Linked DNA regions of Homo sapiens: regions 1, 2 and 3 are each linked to region 4. The links are contacts of gene promoters, found by promoter capture Hi-C in blood cells and fetal thymus (Javierre and others, 2016). All regions are on one chromosome and are shown on one strand. Each heading gives the region's core, a stretch centred on a gene start or on the middle of the fragment in contact. The rest is flanking DNA. Distances are from core to core; before and after follow the strand shown.

Evidence for each region. Contacts are between HindIII fragments. The CHiCAGO score rates a contact against its expected background, and 5 or more counts as called.
Region 1: a fragment that was not itself captured here is called in contact with the fragment with the promoter of KRTAP9-6 in region 4 in 6 of 17 cell types (total B cells, M1 macrophages, M2 macrophages and 3 more); the score reaches 10.2 in total B cells.
Region 2: a contact is called between the fragment with the promoter of KRT28 here and the fragment with the promoter of KRTAP9-6 in region 4, in 3 of 17 cell types (neutrophils, M1 macrophages and M2 macrophages). The highest score is 5.4, in neutrophils.
Region 3: a contact is called between a fragment that was not itself captured here and the fragment with the promoter of KRTAP9-6 in region 4, in 1 of 17 cell types (monocytes). The highest score is 6.1, in monocytes.

What each region holds. Positions count from the first base shown.
Region 1 is chr17:40,909,273-40,912,279 of GRCh38, reverse strand. All of the region lies in intron 1 of LOC105371777 (a long non-coding RNA gene), which reads right to left. Among named protein-coding and RNA genes, the nearest start is that of KRT20, 26 kb to the right of the region's middle. The HindIII fragment of the contact is 4,061 bases long and covers 1-3,007 here.
Region 2 is chr17:40,798,286-40,801,441 of GRCh38, reverse strand. KRT28 (keratin 28) reads left to right here and starts at 1,483. Exons shown (of 8, transcript NM_181535.3): 1 at 1,483-1,998; 2 at 2,443-2,525; 3 at 3,051-3,156. The coding sequence starts at 1,549. LOC105371776 (a long non-coding RNA gene) reads right to left here and starts at 108. Exons shown (of 4, transcript XR_934753.2): 1 at 1-108. RefSeq lists an enhancer at 2,305-3,156. The HindIII fragment of the contact is 3,919 bases long and covers 1-3,156 here.
Region 3 is chr17:40,849,957-40,853,064 of GRCh38, reverse strand. It overlaps LOC105371777 (a long non-coding RNA gene), which reads right to left and starts at 2,267. Exons shown (of 3, transcript XR_934754.3): 1 at 2,205-2,267. The HindIII fragment of the contact is 2,913 bases long and covers 1-2,781 here.
Region 4 is chr17:41,263,806-41,266,869 of GRCh38, reverse strand. It overlaps KRTAP9-6 (keratin associated protein 9-6), which reads right to left and starts at 1,492. Exons shown (of 1, transcript NM_001277331.1): 1 at 1,010-1,492. The coding sequence starts at 1,492. The coding sequence ends at 1,010. The HindIII fragment of the contact is 5,841 bases long and covers 1-3,064 here.

The DNA.
Region 1 (3,007 bases), core at 266-2,765, 350 kb after region 4:
TGTGGGAACATGGCTTTTTATATTTCTCTCTCAGTCTCCTATTCTCCTCCTACAATGTTAGGTGCTTGGAAGTTTCCAGAAGAGGCCTTTCTACAGGAGACAAGGCATTCTCTGTCTCTCTCCTCTGTCCACACCTCAAGTGTGGATCCACCAAAGGTCAATAGGGCCCTAGGGAGGAGATGACAGCATGCAAGACTGCCCTCTTCCACCCATCCACACTGTCTCTCAGTCAGCCAGATATCAGAGTGGCCAAGACCAGGCTCTGTCTTAGACCACACTGTGGCTGTCTTAGCACAGCAGATATCCACAGCCGGACCCTCCCCATCACATGAAGCAGAAGGAAGAAATAAGTCCCCTTGTGACAAGCACTTGCCTGCTATATGTTTTTACAGCAAACAAAGGTTAAAACTACATCCTTCAGAGAGGAACCACTGAGTCTTCAGGCGACTGGAGAAGGGGAGCTGGGAGCCTGCACCTCTGAGCAAGCCAGAGACCCATGCTAGGGGGTCAGAGATTGAGCAGGCTGGGCAAGAGGAACCCAGACCCCTGCAGGTAGGGATCATGGTGGGTAGAGTCTGGGGCTGGGAATTCAAGGCTTTGATCTATTTCCAGTATCTTTGTCTTCATAGTATCTGATCCTCCCCGTTTTGCCCCACCAGACGTGAGTAAGGAGGAGAATTCATAGCCAACTCCAATAATTCTTTATAATAAAACTTTATAAGTGGTATCTGCTACTCTTTATTTATTTATTTATTTGTTTGTTTGAGACAGAGTTTCGCTCTGTCGCCAGGCTGGAGTGCAGTGTCACGATCTCGGCTCGCTGCAACCTCTGCCTCCCAGGTTCAAGCAATTCTCCTGCCTCAGCCTCCCGAGTAGCTGGGACTACAGGCACATGACACCATGCCTAGCTAATTTTTGTATCTTTAGTAGAGACGGGGTTTCACCACGTAGGCCAGGATGGTCTCGATCTCTTGACCCCGTGATCCGCCCGCCTCGGCCTCCCAAAGTGTTGGGATTACAGCCGTGAAACGTCGCGCCCCGCCTGTGCTACTCTTAAAGGATCCAAAGGATATCTAGAAGGGATTCACGTGCTCGTTTGGGTCCCACAGTACATCGAGGTTTGGGAGCCTCTCAGATATTTGCTTCCTGTCCTCAATTTTGTTTGGGTGCCTCCAGTAACCTCTGATATTTATATAAAACTATCTCACTGTAAAAGGGGCAAAGACCTAGTCTTCTGCCTCCAGGGCTTCTCCTGTGGTCATTTCTCATGTCCTCGCCATTGTGTCAGCCCCAGCTAAATGTTTCTTCTACAGGAGGAAAGGGAGCATGTAACCTCTTGCTCTCAAAAATGGAGAGGGGAAGAAAAAGTTTAAGATGGGTAAAGAGAGACTAAAACTGCAGGCAGCCGTCTTGTTTTCTCAGTCTCCCCTAAACCCACTCCAAGCTGGACGAAACCATCTGTTCACAGAAAAAGTACAAAGGAAAGAAGGGTTTGAGAATGTCAGGTAGTAGACAAAAAAGTTTCAGTTCCTACCCTTACAATGATCCCTTCTCTAAGAGCTGGCTCCCTTTACAAGACAACTCGTCAGAGTTTATTTCTGTACTGGCATTTATGTCTTCAAGGCATCCAAGTATCTTGTGGATCTTTCAACAGATCAAAAGGCAGAAAGAAAAATGTTCTTGGATCAACTCCTAGAAAAATCTGAAACCAGATTTTCCTGAGATATTTCAGGCCAGTCAGTGCCTGTCAGCTTTATACTGTGGCATCTTTCTTTTCAAATATGGATTAAACCCTGCGATGAATGAAAAGATTAAAAGCTCATCATTCCAGCAGCCTTAGTTTCTAAATTGTTGTGCTATCTCCTTAAAAACTTCTGTGCATTTGTATCACGCTGTCTGCTCTTCGGGGCCACTGCTTGTGTTGCAGGGAAGACACAAAGCATGAGAGTTCCGAGCAGTGGGCAAAGATGCTTGTCAAGAGTGTTATAAGGGGGACCAGGCATTGGGAAAGGAGTTGAACCTGAGGGACTTTCAGATTCGATTATTTTCCTCTTAATCGGAGAAGAGTTTGAGTTTATAAACAACATAAAATAACAGATATATGGAAGATACTGACGTTTTGGAGGGCTATCAATAAGATAGGGCGTGGCCAAATTACAAATAAAGTTTATTAGGACACAGTCATGAACGTTTGTTTGCATATTGTCTACAGCTGCTCTTGCACAAGGACAGCAGAGTTGAGTAGTTGCAACAGTCTCTCCAGCCCACACAGCCTAAATATTTATGACCTGGCCTCTACAGAAAAGAAAAAAAAAAAGTCCATCCCGTACTATAGATATTAGAGCAGGAGAAAATGAGTTGAAATTACAGCAGAACAGTCAGGCCTATCTCTGTCAATATCTCTGACAATTGAAGGGGGCAGGCTATTAAATCTAAAGTTGAGAGGGCCTTGGCCCCTTCGCATGCTATTAAAGATGACTGTGGGTCATTTCAAAAACACCTGGATGGTTTAGAATAGGTGCAATCATTTAAAAGATTGAAAAGCATCTGCTTTTCCCCCAGGTAATTCATGTTTAGGGAACAAGTTAAAAATAGAAGATATATTTTGCTTTTCACTTTTAAAATTGTATAGCTTCCCAAATATTTTTCAAGATAATTGGTCAGCTGTTGCTCACTCAGAAGTAATGCTGTTCTTGGTAAAATGCCAATTTGAACAGAGAAAGAAGGATGGTAATGGTGACTCACAAACCAGTTTCACCCGGAGCCTGGGAGAGGGTGCTGCGGCCTTTTGGAATAGGAAGGCCACGAACACCCCCTGCTGGCTATAGGGCAACATAAACCCGAACTCATCCTTTTTCCTGATCCAAGGCTCGGGTTGGACAAAGATCAACCATACAAGTCCTGTGATGGAATCAAGGAATATCAAACATTCATAATTCATGCCCAAGGGATGGTAGCATCTTGAAATTCAAGTAGTTTGTGTTACATGTACAGCAGCAAAGAACCA
Region 2 (3,156 bases), core at 234-2,733, 470 kb after region 4:
TCTAAATTCTGGTTTCCACTATCCAATTTTAGCCTGTCATCCTTCACCTTTATCAATCTCCTCCTCACACTCCGCCTGCTCCATGACCTCATAAGGATACCCAATGACTCACCCTCTGCCCTTTTCTTCAGTCCATCTGTCCCTCTGGTTTTACTTTCTTCTTGCTATATGATCATACAGTCAATCGCCTCAATTGTTTTCTCAAGAACACCAGAAATTTCTTTGCCACTATTTCCTTCTTCTGGACCTGTCTTCAAATCCCAAAACCCACATCAATCTGATCATCATCCTTTCTATTCCTGCACCAGGATTACTTCCAAATATGCAGTTGAACATCATTATAAATGAGAGCTGGACCCTCCAATTTTCTTTTACTCATTGCTAGTCAAGTATTTTTCCAGTTCAGTATACATATTCTAAACAGTCATTCTTGCTATCAGTCACCTTCATCTGGAACATTCTGGCAACCCCTCAAATCCAGTTGGTCCAAACCTAAACTCAGTGTCTTCCTCCTCCTCTATTCCCCATCTCAGTGAATATTATGAGTTCCCAGAATCTAAAATTAATTACCTAAGAGTTATCCCCAATTCTGCCTTATTCCCTACTCTCCAAATTCAATCATATTACCATATGCTCTCAAAGCCATCTTCTCTGCATCCCCACTGCCTTCATCCTTCTCACCTGGACCATTATTCCAACCTTGTAATTGACCACCTTGTTTCATTTCAACCTGATCATTTTGCCCTCTGCTTTTTACTTAGGATTCATTACAAACTCTTTAGACCAGCACAGAAAGCTAACCATGATCCAGCCCCTGTCTGGACCTGACAATAGATTTCTTAAAGATTGTAATCACGCATTTTTCACTTCTGCATTTAGTTAACACTATGTCTTTCATTTTAGCACTTAGCATAGAGCACCAAACATCATAACCATGCTATTTTAAACAAAATAATAGGTCAATATTTGTGTCATTGTCCAAGATAATAAATAGATGTTATAATCATGGTAAGAACAGAGATGTCACTAGCCTCTGTTTTCTAAATAACACATTTTTTTCTGGTGGGATAAAATATCTGTTTCTGTAATTAGCAGTCCTTTATACCCCTCCATGGTAATTGAGACCCTACTGTACCTCACAGAACTCTATCATAATCTTACTTAACTTTATAAAAAATTTGATAATACCTGGCGCCAGATAATGACAGTATATGCCTAGGGTCTAGATGAAAGGAAAGGATTACTCACTCAAAATTAGAAGTTAAATTAATAAACTTAATATAGAACAAACCCTATTATATTTAAGATAAGAAATAGCCCAAAGCAACACCGAGGGATGTTAGACATTAATTATTTTTAAAATCACCCAATTATACATAATTTTATGCTAATCTAAGTGATGCCATTTTGCTTTTGGCATGTATAACTCAAATAGGAACGCCCCAATAATGATATATAAAAACCCAAAGAAATTATCAGTGCATGATATTCTGTTCTCTTGGGACATTACAGTTTTGCATAGACAAGGTGAACATTTCTCAAAACACCATGTCTCTCCAATTTTCTAATGGATCCAGGCATGTTTGCTTAAGGTCTGGAGCTGGATCTGTCAGACCCCTCAATGGAGGTGCAGGCTTTGCAGGCAGCAGTGCATGTGGTGGCTCTGTTGCTGGAAGTGAATTTTCCTGTGCCTTGGGAGGGGGCTTGGGCAGTGTTCCTGGTGGGAGCCATGCTGGTGGTGCCCTTGGAAATGCTGCTTGTATTGGCTTTGCTGGAAGCGAAGGGGGACTCCTCTCTGGAAATGAGAAGGTGACCATGCAAAATCTTAATGACCGCTTGGCATCCTACCTGGATAATGTGCGAGCTCTGGAGGAGGCAAATGCTGAATTAGAGAGAAAAATCAAGGGTTGGTATGAAAAATACGGACCTGGATCTTGCCGTGGACTTGATCATGACTATAGCAGATATCACCTAACAATTGAGGATCTTAAGAATAAGGTGAGAAATCACAGATTTGGAACTAACCCAAGTATTTAAAACTAAGAAATACCTAACAAAAGACATACAATAAGAAATGCTTCATGACTGTTATAACTTGTATTTATTTATTTAGATAAACAATTCTTCCTACTATTCAAAAATGGGCCCTTTGATTCATGAATTTTAATGTAGTTAAAATGTTATTAGTTCCATTGTTTATGTTGAAGTACATTCATAGGCATATGAATAAAAAAGTATTGTAGTTCTAAATTTAGGGGAATATATGAGAATAAATAAAACCATGTCTTTAATTTTTAAAAGTTAAACTTGAAACATTTTGATTATTACATAAGGAGGTGAAATTTTTATGCAAAAACTTGAGTAACCTTTTTCATTTCCTGAAATAATGAATCACATAAAAGCATACTTACTTGTTGTGTTCTCTGTTTTGGTTTATTCTAGATTATCTCCTCCACTACTACTAATGCTAATGTCATTCTGCAGATTGATAATGCCAGACTGGCTGCTGATGATTTCAGGCTAAAGTAAGTGACAGAAGAAAATCCTGCTCTAGAAAAAAGTTTCTATTTATTTAATTTGTTAAATAAAATTTCTATTTCATCCCAAGTAGAATGAACTATCACCTAAAAGATAAAAGGAAGCAAAGGATTTGTATTATAATGTTACAATCAACTTATACATAGTTATTATATTCCTGGGACAAAATATCAATATATTTCTCTGCCTGCCTAGAATACTGCCAAGCACAAAGTAGATGCTCAGTAAATCATTAGTCAACTAAGGAAAAACGTTAACTAAAATAAAATTCCAAAATGGTGTATTTTTATTTAACTAGGTTATGCTATTGGAATTTGTGTGATGAAATAACTTCCAATTATCCTGTACAGAATTGAGTGGGGGTAATGCAGGAGCGCTTTCTTCATATATTTTTATACTATTTACAGTCCTAATTCAATTTCTAATTTTCAGTTTAAAGCAATTGGGATTGAATATTTCTGTTTCTTGGGGTAGTCTTACTGGCACTGAAATTCACTTAAATGCCCCCCAAGGTATGAAAATGAGCTCACCCTTCACCAAAACGTAGAGGCCGACATCAACGGATTACGGCGAGTCCTGGACGAGCTGACGCTCTGCAGGACCGACCAGGAGCTGCAA
Region 3 (3,108 bases), core at 76-2,575, 410 kb after region 4:
TAAAAAGTACCTCCCAAGGTGCTTTACGGTGTTTTCACTGGATACCCATTTTAAACAGCCTTATGTGCTGATTCTGGATGATAATTTTAATGTTAAACTTCCCTAGCCTATCTAATATATGACTGAGTAGGCTGACAAATAATAAAATAAATGTTTATCATTTAAAAAATACAAATATATATAATCAGCATCCAATAGAGATAATCCTGGAACAAAAATTAGTACTACAGAATTAGATCCAGGCTAATCAGAATCCAGCAGTGGTGTTATAGGAAAGCACAACAATGAAGTCCTTCTCAGTGTTATTACTCAGAGGCTAGGGGTAAGAAAAAGTCCTTCAGGTGATGTGAAGTTAGGAGAATTTTACTCAGTTCCCCTGTGTGACTATGGAAGGTGTTTTTACAGCTTGCAGAGCTGAAGGAGATAGAACTGAACGCTGGCCAGTGGGAAGACAAGAACTGCTCAAGGGAAAGGAAGGTCTCAGTAGGGAGGAGAACCTGATGAAAGTTTTAGTCATCATTATCATGATTATCTGTCACCTCCAGGGTACACAGGTAACAGTTGCATTAAAGAGGAGATCATTTCTGAGGAGCTAAAGGACAATATAATATTATAACACCAAAGACACAAAGCTGAAGTAGCAGGTTACACAATTATTTGCCAATTTGTCCACAGGGAGACTTTTTAGCTGCACTTTCCAAAGCATTGGCACTCTGAAAACTTAATCATATAAAACTACATTCCCAACATGTAGAATATGTATCATAAAACACTTGCTATACACATATATCCAAACATCTTATGTCCTTATGATAATTTATCTCTGAACTAAAAATCTATTTAGGATCACTATGGATCATTTAAATTATGTTTCATTTTGTCAGAAAAAAAAATCAAATAATAAAGCATTATTTTAACTGGCTTTTACCTTTCAGTTAAATTGAACTTTAACTAAACAATCAAAGAAAAATTATTCCTCTATCAATGTTGATCTAAAAATCTTTCAATTGTAGCTTTTTAACTAGGTCAAGCTCCAAGTCTCCTGACCCTAGATTTATTTATTCATTCATTCAACAGATACCTATACATATCCTGGCCATATCTGGTATTTTGCCTCCTCATCCAAGCCACTATTTATGTCTCTCTCCTGGCTGACCACACAGCTTCCACCTGTACCCACCTCTCTTCCACTCTTTCCACCAGAGCTGGGGGGATCATTTTGAAAAAGCTGATCCAGTCACTCCATTGCTTAAAGGCCTTCAAAGGCTTCCTATTGTCCTTGGAATAAAGACCAAAACCCAGCAAGGTATGGCCTGGCCTGGCCCCCTCTACCCTCTTTCAAATCGTGTGCCCTCTCTCCCCCTCTATCTTCTCCAAACCTACTGGTCTTGTTTACTTTATTTTTGTATATATTTAAGATATACAGCATATGAGGTTTTGATATACATATACTGAGTGACAGCAATACTACAGTCAAGTAAATTCTAACGCCATGCTCCTTCCCACTCTGGCAGCTTCTCACAAACTTTCCCTCTTTACCTAGAATGAGCCTCCACCCCCATTTTGGCCTAGTTAACAATCCTAGTCACCAGTTAGGTCCTAACTCAAATGCCCCTCATTAACCAAGTCAGGTTCTCCTATTCTACCTTCTCATACTATACTGTAGTTATCCTTCACAGCTCTTAGCGCAATTTGCAATTATACATTTATTTGTATGAATATTGAAATAATGTCTGGCTCTACCACTGCATTCTCTCTAAGGGCAGCGGCCATGTCTGTTTTGCCCTCCACTGTAGCCCTGGCATCTAGCACAGTGCATAAAACAGCACATATACCCTACTGCATAGGAGACAATCAATACTTGTTGAATACCTGTGCACAGAATTACGTACAAATGCTAGAATATTCACTCAGTAAAAGCTGGAATAATGCCTGTATTACTCTCCTGGGCTCAAGCAATCTGTCCACCTCAGCCTCCCAAAGTTCTTGGATTACAGGTATAAGCCACTGTGCTTGACCACCTGTATTACTCTCTAGGTACCATTAAAAGCACTCAATAAACACTGGTTGCACAAACATTGAATGGTGGCGATATATTTCTTCTATTATTTTCTTGAAATAGTCATTGAATTTTTATCCACTGATTTATTAACTCTAAATTTTCCAACACTTATCTTTGGAAAGACTGAATGAACAAACCCTACCTTATTAAGGCGCAGAAGCTAAGGAGTGTCCATCACAAAGGAAGCAAAGAGGATGGTTTGCATAGATTCCATTTGAATCTATTTGTTTTGGTTACTCTATTTAAAATATGCTTGCGTCATATGAAATTGAATTCCACTTACTTCCTTCTCCTTAAATCTTAATAAAGGAATTAGGCTGGCTGTTTGAGACTAAAAAATCCATCAAGAAGTTGTTTGCATTTTACTGAGATATTTGTTGAATTCAATATTTCCAGAAAACCCTCAAGATACTTGTCACTCTATAGGGACACAAAATTTTCTTATCTAATATGTACAATCTTTAACTTGACAATTTCACAAGGCATATTGATATAAATCATATTGCTCAATATCTGGTGACTCAGTAGAAAGTGATCTTCAGTTTCAACAAGCAGTCTTTTAATTCATGACGCTTTTTCTTAAGGAAATTAACCTGAGGACTTTTTCCCATACATCTAAAGAGTACTAGAAGTTGCTTTCAAAACATAGAGTAACTTGGTTTCCATGTAGTATTTATAAGAAAAAAAAATCTGTAGATATTCACTTATAAAGGCAAGCTTGGAATCCTCTAATTCGTCATTAAAGTGTGCTTTGTATGTAGGCAATCGCCTAACCATAGATACAAAACTGAGTTATCTTAAAATGGCTGATGGAACACTGGCTTTCCATGAAAATATTCAGTCTGAAAATGTAATACTCCTGCCAATCTAGATCAAAATAGAACTTGTTCTCCCTTAATAACGAGGTGTTCTATCTAAAAAACATTGTGCTCTCTCTCTTTGGTGGTCTAGCAGTTAGGAATAAAAATTAAAAATAAGTAAAATACACTTTTCTCTCAATCAAACTAATATTTACTGGTCACTATGGAAGCAAATGGGAGCGGACT
Region 4 (3,064 bases), core at 243-2,742:
GAGAGTTAAATGTAAGTGTTCTTGGGCAGAAAGAGAAGCTCTCACCTTGGACTAGAGTCTGTCCTTTATTAGCTACATAAAATCACACACTAAATTGTTCTCAGCTGAAAAATTGAGGTAATAATACATAATAATAACTCTGTTTTCAGAATCAAATTGGATAATACATATAGCATGCAATATGTGTGTAAATCTCATATCAGCAATTCTGTAAAATAAAACACCATATGAGATGAAGGATGGTTCAGAATTTATTCAGAAATATATAGGTAAGAATCCCTGCTACTAGGGACATAGCCCAAAGTTACAATGAAAAGAAGAAAGAAGGGTAAAAGAAACATGAGGACAAAATTGAAAACAAAAATATGATTGCAAAGATTATTGATCAGTTGCAGAAACCTAAGTTTCTTAGAAGGAGAGAATGAAGCTCTTGACTTTAGAGTCGAATGGAGACCATGTCTCCACATTGAGAACACATGAAGCTGGCACATGATCCACAAAGTGTAAGGAAAAAAGAATCAGGATGAAGTATTCTGCCCTCCCTCAAGCTGATTCCCAAGATTTTAAACAGGCAAAGAAATAAAAAAAATTGGTGAAAGCATACTGTGTATCAGTAAAGTTTGAAAGTAAATCTGTCTTCTGAAAGATAAGTGAGTTGGGTCTGGGTGTGGTAGCTCACACCTGTAATCCCAGCACTTTGGGAGGCTGAGGCAGGTGGATCACCTGAGGGCAGGAGTTCCAGACAAGTCTGATCAACATGGTGAAAACTACTAAAAATACTAAAAATACAAAAAATTAGCCAGGCGTGGTGGCACAGGCATGTAATCCCAGCTACTCAGGAGGCTGAGGCAGGAGAATCACTTGAACCCAGAAGATGGAGGTTGCAGCGAGCCGAGAGCGTGCTACTGCACTCCAGCCTGGGTGACAGTGAGGCTCCGTCTCAAAAGAAAAAAAAGGTCAGTTGAGCAGAAGGTTGTTGTGTGAGGATGATGGTCCTCTGTGGTGCTGCTCAGCAACAAGAATGCTGGCAGCAGCTGGACACACAGCAGGCTGGGCAGTAGCAGGGCTGGCAGCAGCTGGATCCACAGCTCTGGTTGAGGCAACCAGGCAGGCAGACAGTCGTGGGGTGGTAGCAGGTTCTTCTGCAGTACACAGGTGCACAGGAGCTGCTCTGGCCACAGCTGGACCCACAGCTGGTTTGGCCACAGCAGCTGGACCCACAGCAGATGGGCTGGTAGCAGGGTGTGCTGCAGCAGGAAGGCTGGCAGCAGCTGGTCACACAGGTGGGCTGGCAGCAGGTGGTCCTGCAGCAGGTGTTTTGACAGCAAGTTGGGTGGCAGTAAGGCTGGCAGCAGCTGGACACACAGCAGGAGGGCTGGCAGCAGGGTGTGCTGCTGCAGGTGGTCACAATGGTGGGCTGCCAGCAGGTAGTCCTGCAGCAAGTGGTCCTGCAGCAGGTAGGCTGACAGCCAGGGGAGCAACAGTGGGTCATGTTGTCAGGGGTGGAGGGTGGGCTTCTGTTCAGAGGTGAGTTTCCCAGGATTTGATGACCCCTTGCAATCTGGACCTTTTATACATGTGGCCTCCAAAGTTTCCACCAATCAGCAGGATTTTTCTTTCTTGCTGTTTACAGTTGTTTTCCATAGTCAGTTTGGCATTGTCAAAGAGGAAGTCATTTCCTAAATGTTATGAATCTTTGGAAAGTAAGGGTTTAATCTGTTTCTTAATTGTAAATTACTCGTAGAAACTTTGTTTCAGATAAAAGGAAGGCAGTCTCATCATCAGCTTCGTTCCTGCTCTGACCAGCATCTCGTCATGTGATAGTTCCTGGTGACTGGGGAGGCTCAGGAAGTTCTCTCTGCCCAGTCTCATCCTTTGGCTGTATGTAGACTGGGAAGTGTCTGTGGGGAGAAGCATGATGTTGATATATTCACAGTGGTGAATTGAATCCATGCTTGGGACCAAGACTGTTCACCCACCAAAGTCTGATTCAAGACTGATAGGCATCTCTCTATGTACAACCTACTTTACCTGTCTCTTCCAGTTCTATAAAAGCCTCTTGGGAAGAGGGTGTTCAGCACAATGTGTGCTATGTGGCAGAGCAGAGCCAAAGCAAACACGTAGAAAGAGGAGGGGTTCACTGGAATTCACAAAGCATCAAGCAATCTACGTGCTGCGGTGACCATTCACCCTGATTTGTCTGGGACTGAGGGGCTTACCAGCATGAGAATGTGGGACTGGGAATTACTGTGACATTACTGCTTGAGGTCCAGGCAAAGCAATATGAGCTGTGGCTCTAGCCCTAATCCAGGTTACTGGCACAATCATTGCCATTTCTCTGTCTCTGTCTCTGTCTCTGTCTCTGTCTCTGTCTCTCTCTCTCTCTCTCTCTCTGTCTCTCTGTTTTCAGTGAGGGAATTAGGTGAGTTGAGATGATATCTGATTCCTCTTTGAGGTTTACCATTGTTTAAAACTTTTTAAATTATACCATTCATTTCAGAAGAGTGCAAATTATGAATTCCAACTTGATATAATATTACATTATAAATACATCTAAGTCCCCATTACCAGTTTACAAAATAGAAATTAATTCCATTCCCTCCAAATTATATCTTTTTACTTATCTCCAAAGGTAGCTAGTCACTCTATCAAGTTTTAATCCTGTAGGTCAGTTTTGTTTTTTTCTTTGACTTTTATGTAAATAAAAATTATAGAATTTGCTTCACTGTGTTTTTGGCATAATCAAAAGCAGCAATTATAACCTGGTCATTTCATTTTGGATCCTTCATGTTAGCAGACCAGCAGGTAGATAAAGGAGTTAATATTCCATGAGGGATAATTTTCGTGAAGCCATAGAGCGTAGGGAGAATATATCTGAAACTCAAGAAATTTACTATATATATTAAAGCATTACACTGCCATTAAAAACTATGGCAAATCAAGTGGCTGAAGTTTATTTTCTCACAGTTCTGAAGGCTAAAATAAAGGTGTTGGCAATGTTGTTTTCATCTGAGGGCTGTGAGGGAAATATCTGTTTCAGGTCTCTCTCCTTGACCTGTAGATG